Linked DNA regions of Homo sapiens: region 1 is linked to region 2. The links are contacts of gene promoters, found by promoter capture Hi-C in blood cells and fetal thymus (Javierre and others, 2016). All regions are on one chromosome and are shown on one strand. The core of a region is centred on a gene start or on the middle of the fragment in contact, and the rest is flanking DNA. Distances in the headings are between cores, read along the strand shown. Region 1 holds the start of LRGUK (leucine rich repeats and guanylate kinase domain containing). Region 2 holds the start of IQUB (IQ motif and ubiquitin domain containing).

What was found. The method cuts DNA at HindIII sites, captures the fragments that hold promoters and counts their contacts. A CHiCAGO score of 5 or more calls a contact.
Region 1: the fragment with the promoter of LRGUK here is called in contact with the fragment with the promoter of IQUB in region 2 in 2 of 17 cell types (non-activated CD4 T cells and activated CD4 T cells); the score reaches 6.1 in non-activated CD4 T cells.

The regions. Positions count from the first base shown.
Region 1 is chr7:134,126,021-134,128,589 of GRCh38, forward strand. It overlaps LRGUK (leucine rich repeats and guanylate kinase domain containing), which reads left to right and starts at 1,320. Exons shown (of 20, transcript NM_144648.3): 1 at 1,320-1,644. The coding sequence starts at 1,348. RefSeq lists enhancers at 1,173-1,222, 1,333-1,602. The HindIII fragment of the contact is 1,507 bases long and covers 230-1,736 here.
Region 2 is chr7:123,533,228-123,538,400 of GRCh38, forward strand. It overlaps IQUB (IQ motif and ubiquitin domain containing), which reads right to left and starts at 1,368. Exons shown (of 13, transcript NM_178827.5): 1 at 1,265-1,368. It overlaps LOC124901740 (a long non-coding RNA gene), which reads left to right and starts at 1,304. Exons shown (of 2, transcript XR_007060507.1): 1 at 1,304-2,198; 2 at 2,378-3,032. It overlaps NDUFA5 (NADH:ubiquinone oxidoreductase subunit A5), which reads right to left. Exons shown (of 5, transcript NM_005000.5): 5 at 3,770-5,173. RefSeq lists silencers at 1,435-1,664, 1,685-1,834, 1,915-2,044 and an enhancer at 2,115-2,254. The HindIII fragment of the contact is 3,094 bases long and covers 731-3,824 here.

The DNA.
Region 1 (2,569 bases), core at 70-2,569, about 11 Mb after region 2:
AAAACGATCGAGATTTGCATTTTTACACTTTCTGCCTGATTCTTCCCTATGTCACTTAGCCGAAGCCAGGCCCTACGAGGGTAAGGGTGGGGAAAATTCCCTTGGAGGAATCTCTACTTATTGGAAAAAGAAATAAGCAAAAAGCAAGATGAGCCTGGCAGAAAGAGATATTTTGCTTGTGGCCTTTACATTTATGACTAGCAAGATAATGAAGGAAGGTAATTCTGAAAGCTTTATGTCAGTTTTAACGGTCCCTCAAGCACTGAGAAAGATAATCGTCAATGGATGGTGTCCATAAGGATTTTTTCTCCTTCTCCCCTGACAGCCATTGACAGGATCATTTTGTATTTGCAACTGCTGTCATTGAAGCGTGCAGAAAAGGCCCTGTAAGGCCAGAAGGATGAGGGCTACTTCCCTGCAAGGATCTCTATTGTCATCACTATGGCAATAATAGTTACTATAATTTTCATTCTGCTTTTCTATAGAGTGTCGACGTTGTGGAGCTTAAGGCTATGGGATTTGGGTCACATAAAATCACACTAGCATAAAATCGTGCTTTGTTATCTTGAAAGAGTATTTTTTTTAACTGCAAAGAGAGCCTGTGCAACAAGATTAAAATAATTGCCAATGCAGGTCACTTGACTAATATAATTATTTATGGGATGCTAATAGCTTTTCAGACGCTTTCAGATACAGTGTCAATTTGACAGCAGTTTTTTCTCTCTCTGTTTGGATTGTAAGACCACTGCCAGTTTTTCTCCCCAAGGACAAGGCTTATCATTGGGGGGTGGGGGTGGGGAATGTAAATTAATTGGAAATCAGCTCTCAGGCGTCGTCTGGTAGTTTCTCTTTATTATCTGCAATTAAATCATAAGGACAGGAACCATGCCTTCTATTTCACTTATATGCACCCTCATCTCCTAGCGTCGCGCTTTGCATAAATTTCAGTGGTACTAGCTTTCCTACAGACTGCTTTAGAGACATTAGACACTTCTAAAGTACGACTCTGCGGAAAGAGCCCTTTGGGAATGAAGCGGCAACGGTGGCGCACCTGCGATCCTATCGTGGGATGACAAAGCTCTAAGAGGGGTCTCAGGGTAGGGAGGAAACAGCTGGAGACAAAGAAAGGGGGTGTAGCGAAAAGAGGTGAAAACAGGAAAGATAAGCGAACAGAACAGACCAAAGAGAGAAAAATAACAGAAGAGACTGAGAAAAAGAAAAGTCAAGTGGAGCGCCCACTGCCCCGCCTGCAGAAGGCGAGTACGCGCGGAGGAGACTACAGGCCCCAGAATCCTCCGCGGTTCCCCTTGCCTGGGGTCAGTCTCCTAGGCAACCCCGCTAAACAAGATGGCGACCTCCGAGAGGGCTCTCCTGAGGACCAGAGCTGCCTCTCTCCTGAGAGGCTTGGGCAGATCCCGAACTGGAGCCCGATCGTTACAGTTTCGCGCAGAAAAAGAGCGTCAGCCTTGCTGGTCTTTTCCCATGGGGCAGAAGACGAAAGGCAGCTCTAACATAGCCTCCTCCTACCTGCTCCAGCAGCTCATGCACCGCTATCAGGAGCTGGACTCGGACGGAGATGAGGACCAGGGCGAGGGCGAGGCGGGATCCGAGGAGTCCTCAGAGTCCGAAATGCTGAATTTGGAGGTGTGTCTTCCCCCCCACCCCGTACTCCCTGGCTCCCTCGTCCAGCCCTGTTACTTCAGCGGCAGCTCCCCGATGCACCCCCACCAGCCCGAAGCTTCCCACACCTTCTCAGGCTCTCTCGCCTCCAGGAACGCCTCTTCCCCCTCTTTTCTTCCCCTGTCTTTTACCCCGTTTTCTCACCCCCTGCCTGAAATAGCTCTAAATAGTTCCTTTCTTTTTTCATTAACACATTTGATTTCTTATGAGTCGAGTTAACACAGCGTCACTTTGTAAGAGTGTCTAGATAATTGTCTGGGAATTATGGCTTTAGCTTTTTCAAAATTATACTTTGACAGTATTGTGAATAGGCAGAGTTCATCTCTGACATTGCCAGCACCTGTTGCCCATGGCTATGACATACTTCCACACTCTTCCTCAGTTCTAGTCCCGTCAGCCTCCCTCCAGGAAAAAAAAAAAAAAAAAAATCCGCTTTTGAAAGTGCTTCTTCAAAGACTAAGTGACTTAAAAGTTGAATACATTACTTCTGTCGGGGGCATATGCCTTATACAAGCAACATGCACACACACCAGAAAAGAGCCTTATAATGTTCGAACAGCCAGCTCATTGTGGGAATATTTTAGGATGTGGGGAATGTTCCCATCATCCCACCCATATTGACTGGGATGGCGGCTTCGCGTTTCACATGACTGCCATTCCCTCCTTTCTACAATATCTCTTCTGACCACCACACAATTCCTCTTCTTTCTTATGCTTATTATGGTCCTTTTCCTTTCTTAGTCCATTGTTGTCTTCTTGTCCTTTTCCACTTCTCATCACATCACTTCTTTTCTCTTGGCTTCTAATAAATTGCTTTCTTTCAAAAGCGTAATTTAATTTGCTTCCTTTCTATTTTGTTTATGTTTTTGAGATGGAGTCTGGCTTTGTC
Region 2 (5,173 bases), core at 118-2,617:
CATTTTATACATCTATCTCTGTATATATGTGTAAGTATACTGAAAATGAGTTCCCAGAATTAGAATGGACAAGTCAAAGGGCATACAGATCTTAATTTTGTTAAATTCCATCAAACTGTTTTCTATTATAGCCCCAAGAAGTTCCCCTTGACTGTTTCCTTACATCCTCATATTGTTTTATGAGTCCTAATAATTAAATATCCCTTTGTTGTGTGTTGCCCTTATATTTCCCATTGTATGTTTGATGTTGTTTTTCTCTTACTATATAAAAGTTTTAGATTGTTAGGTAGTGACATTTATCAATCTTTTTGCTTATGAGAGTTTCCAAATTTCCTGACATGCTTCGAAACACCTTCTCACAATGAAACATAAATACATAAATTCATCCATAAATGCATAAATGAGACAGATCTGTAAATATTGATAGAAAACAACTGGACACACAGTCTTAAGTGTAAAAGCCAATCACAGAAGAGTATGCACAATGTTACAGGTGTAACTACATATTTGCGTATGTCTAAAACACCTGTGGAAGGTGGCCTGGAGATGGGGAGAAATGGGTAGATGGAGGATTTTCACTCTTCATTCTTTTTACTATTCGAACTATTTTTTTATGTATTATCTATTCAAATGAAAATGTTTAAATCTTATTGTTTAAAAAGCAACCTCTATCATGTTTGCATACAAAAAAGTCTCCCTTTTCACCTACATTTCATTCCCTACCATTTAAAGCTTAACACATTTAGAATGTAGTATAATTAGTGAGGCAGGGATCCAGTATTGCCTTCTACCAAATAGATCTGTTGAATTTTTAGGTTTGTTAAGAGGCAAAGACCAAGGGTGGAGAGGAAGGAGTGAGAGTGCCAGGTGAGGAAAGTCTAAAATCTCTCGACTTAATATGAGAATGGTGGCCACGGAAGGCTAAGAGTCTCTAGTGCCAGGTGTGGGTTATACACACATCTTCTATGCAATTACCGTGACAAGCACCCAGGGTGTGAGGTGAGGTGTACCTCCTAGCTTGATGCTGCTGGTTCAAGTCCCAAATCAGAGAGGGGAAGCCAAAAAAGGAGCCGAGAAAGATGAGATGCTTCGCACGGTTTTTAAAGTAAAGTCGGAACATTCCTGACCGACTAGGCAGCCCCAGGCGCTCAGGTGGGAATCACTGCCCAGCACACAGAACCCAGAGTCCAGCGCGGCTGTCACCGGCTCTAGGCTGGATCTAAGCGTCGGACCAGGAGGCCGCAGTCAAAATCTGTTCTCCTACCTGTGTACGAAACCAAACTATTCTCGTCGAAGTGCTTTCCCAGGCTCCTAAGACGCAGCTTCCATACTCGCCGCGTTCTCAGCTGTTGGTCGTATCCTAGCAACGGCCCTGGCACCACCTCTTCCTGCCGGAGCACGGCAGGGGTGGGAAGGAGAGGAGCCAGAGGCGGGTGGGGGGGAGGAGCCAGAAGAGGGCAGCGGGGAGGGGCCGGGAAGGAGGAGCGCGGCAGGGTAGGGGGAGGAGCCAAAGACTGGGGGCGGGGCCGGGAAGGAGGAGGGCGGCAGAAGAGAAGGGGATGAGCCAGAGGCGGGGAGGTGGGGCCGGGAAGGAGGAGTGCGGCAGGAGAGAAGAGGAGTAGCCAGAGGCGGAGGGGCGGTGTCGGGAAGGAGGAGCGCGGCAGGAAATAAGGGAAGGAGCTAGAGGCGGGCTGGGGGCCGGGGTCTGGAAGGAGGATCGCGGTAGGGAAGAAGAGGAGCCAGAGGAGGGGGATGGGGGCTGCAAAGGAGGAACGCGATAGGGAAAAGGGGGAGGAGCCAGAGGCGAGGGGGCGGGGAGAAGAAACATGGCAGGAGAAAGGGGAGGAGCCAGAGGCGAAGAGACAGGAAGAGGGACGCGTCAGGGAGAAGGGGAGGAGTCAGAGGCGAGCGGGCGTGGAGGAGGGAAGCGGCAGGGAGAAGGGGCGGGGCCAGAGGCGAAGGGGCGGGGAGGAGGGACGCGGCAGGGAGAAGGGGAGGAGCCAGAGGCGGAGGCTGTTACCAACTGGCTACCTAGATCCAAGTGAATCAGGACACTAACTTCTCTCCAAGATCTTTTACACTTGTGAAACGGCACAGCTCTCTAAACCAAACACTGACAGCAGTTTAATTTTACAGATATAAAAAAAATCCGAGTCAGAGAAATCATCACGATGAAGTCAGAGGCGAGAAACTGTCAGGTGCCTACTTGCTTTTGTTAAACTAACAACTTGGCTCTCAGCTTCCTGGCAGCCAAAGAGAAAAGGGAGATAGTAGCTATCAAATAATTCTGCTTAGAAGAACTTTTGTTAATCACTAAATTAGTTAATAAACTAAATTTTGTCTAACAACAAATTCTTTTTTTTTTTTTTTTTTCTAGTGTATACAGAGTCTTGCTCTGTCGCCCAGGTTGAAGTGCAGTGGTTCGATCTCGGCTCAATGCAACCTCTACCTCCCTGGCTCCCGCGATTCTCCTGCCTCAGCCTCCTGAGTAGCTGAGATTACAGGCGCCCGCCACCACCCCCGGCTAATTTTGGTATTTTTAGTAGAGATGGGGTTTCACCATGTTGGCCAGGCTGATCTGGAACTCCTAGCCTCAAGCAATCCGCCTTCAAAAGTGTTGGGGATTACAGGAGTGAGCCACCGCGCCCGGCCTATCAATGAATAAGAAAACTTTTAAAGAACCACAGGATAGTATTGGAGGTCAAGTCAAGTATGTTCCTCTTGGAAATTTAGTAACAAACTACATGTTGCTATCTCATAATAGCAGCTAACATTTATGAAGTATTCATTGTCATGAGGCACCGTACATAGATTTCTAATTTAATCCTTACAACGATTTTATTAGGGAGAAACTGCTATTAGACCCATTTTGTAAATGAGAAAACTAAGGCACACAAAGTTTAATGAGGGAACCAGGATTAAACCTAAGCAATCTAACTCCAGGTCCCAGATTTTTTAACCATTACAGTACTGTTTAATTTGATTTGATATGTTAAAAGGATTAATAAAATTAATACAGGTCCATTCCCTTATTCATAAATGTTCATTGTCTTCATTTATTTCTTTATACTGTTCTGCTGAAATTGCACTCTCATCTCCCCAATAACTTTGTAATATCCAATGCCATTTTTTTCAGTCATCCCATTTTAAAATATATTTTTACTAGAATAGTGAAATATATATTCAGATAAAATTGGCTTTGTTTTAATAATGATCAGTAAAAGTAAATTCATTTTAATCATTTCCACACATTCATGAAAAGTAAAGGGGAAAAATGGGCATAGAGGTAACCACTAGAATTAGGCTTTCTTGGATGGGTAGACCAGGTGTGGAGGTGTGCAGATAAGATTTTACAAACACTCATACACTCCCATCTCCAAAATCATAATTTATCTTACATTCTGCTACTAATAAACATTCCACTGGTTTTAAACATTCACTTTGCTGGGTCTCCTCTTTAAAATTTGTCATTCACTGTTCTCAATGTTAGAGACGGTATGCAAACAGTAGGTTTAGGAATAGAGTCAGGAGATGGGGGAAGAAAAACTGGTAGGAGAGAACTTAAGTGTCTCACAGTGTTAAATGTGACTTGATAGCCACTATTCATTTTTTTTTGTAGTTTGCTGTGAGGATGACTTTATACAATTTAATCTTAAATAGGAACCTAACTTAGTTAGGCTTCCTTGGGTAGTCTGTGGAGCATGGAAAAGTTATTAGCATGTCAAAATCCTGTCCACGCACACATACACGCACATACACACAAATGTAGTTTGGTTACATAATAAATTTATATTCAAACTTAATGAAAACAACCAATAGGAAAAAGCTTCTCAATTCCAAAAGTGAAAGAGTAATTTTACAATACCATTTTCCATTTTCCTTTTCATGATAAATCTATGCATTTTCTCAGGATTTATTCCACCAAACGACTTCGTATTTCTCATGAAACATCTACCTTTATTCATCTCAGCATTTATTTATGTAATAAACATTTCTTTTGATGTGCTTTTATTTTTACAAAGATGCCACCTAGTGGCTTGATAAAATCAAGCATTTCAAAGTATCTCCTGTTGTTACTACAGGTTAAAATGAATAATGAATATTTTTAATATTAAAATAATTTAGAAAACTAAGGACCTGAAAATTTTTGTTTTGGAAATTATTTAGATTAAATTTGGATCATAATACCACTTTGTGAACTTGTTAAGAGAATGGAAATATAGGTCTATTGTCCCTTTTCTGAAACCTTTTAAGACAGATGTGTTTGATATTCACAATTTTTCAGATTTTTGAAAGGAAATATGGGCATATACTTTACATTATGTAACACATTAAGAGGGTCTGAGGAAGCAGTTTAGAATCAAATATATTGATACATCTGTGGCAAAATATATTCATATTCACATTGAAGTGCGATAAATACCACAAATAGCCTCATGTAATTCAGGTGGGGTTTGTTGCCAAATGAGTTATGAAAAAACTTTGTTTTCAGAGATTTTTGAAATTAGGAATTTAGATAAGGGACTTTGGACCTGTTTTACTCTGGTGAAAAATAATTCACCCTCCAGTTATAGAGAGATTAAAATGCCAATATTTTGTAAAAAAAAAAAAATAGTTATCTTTAGAAAACCTAATAGATTCACCTAAAAAAAAATTGAAGATCATGAGAAATACCAAAATAGAAATCTTTGCAATGCTTTTCATTTAATTATATACAGATGCCAATCATAAATTACATTTAAGTGTACCACAAAAAATTAGCTGCTAATGTAAACCTAAAGACCAATTTGAAAATTATTAGTGATGCATGGCAAGTTCAATTCATAAATTTTGTGGCACAGTCAAAAAAAAATTTAACCTTGGTTGTTTCTTTTTTTTTATTCCTATGTGTAATTTACCATGTTCCAATTCCCCACCACCACTATGGTCATGGAAATATATGTTGATGGTGCCACACTCAGCCTGGATTCCTTGTGGGTCTATGAGCACTCCTTGCCAACCCTCCTTAGACATGCAGTATGAATAAAAAATACACTTAAGACACTGGGATTTAAGGATAACCCATGCTAAGTCACTACATGACTCACTATTTTACTTCACGATCTAGAATACTGACTCATCTCTAGTCTCTCAAATGAATTCTTCCTGTCCCCATCAATCATTCAAACCCCTT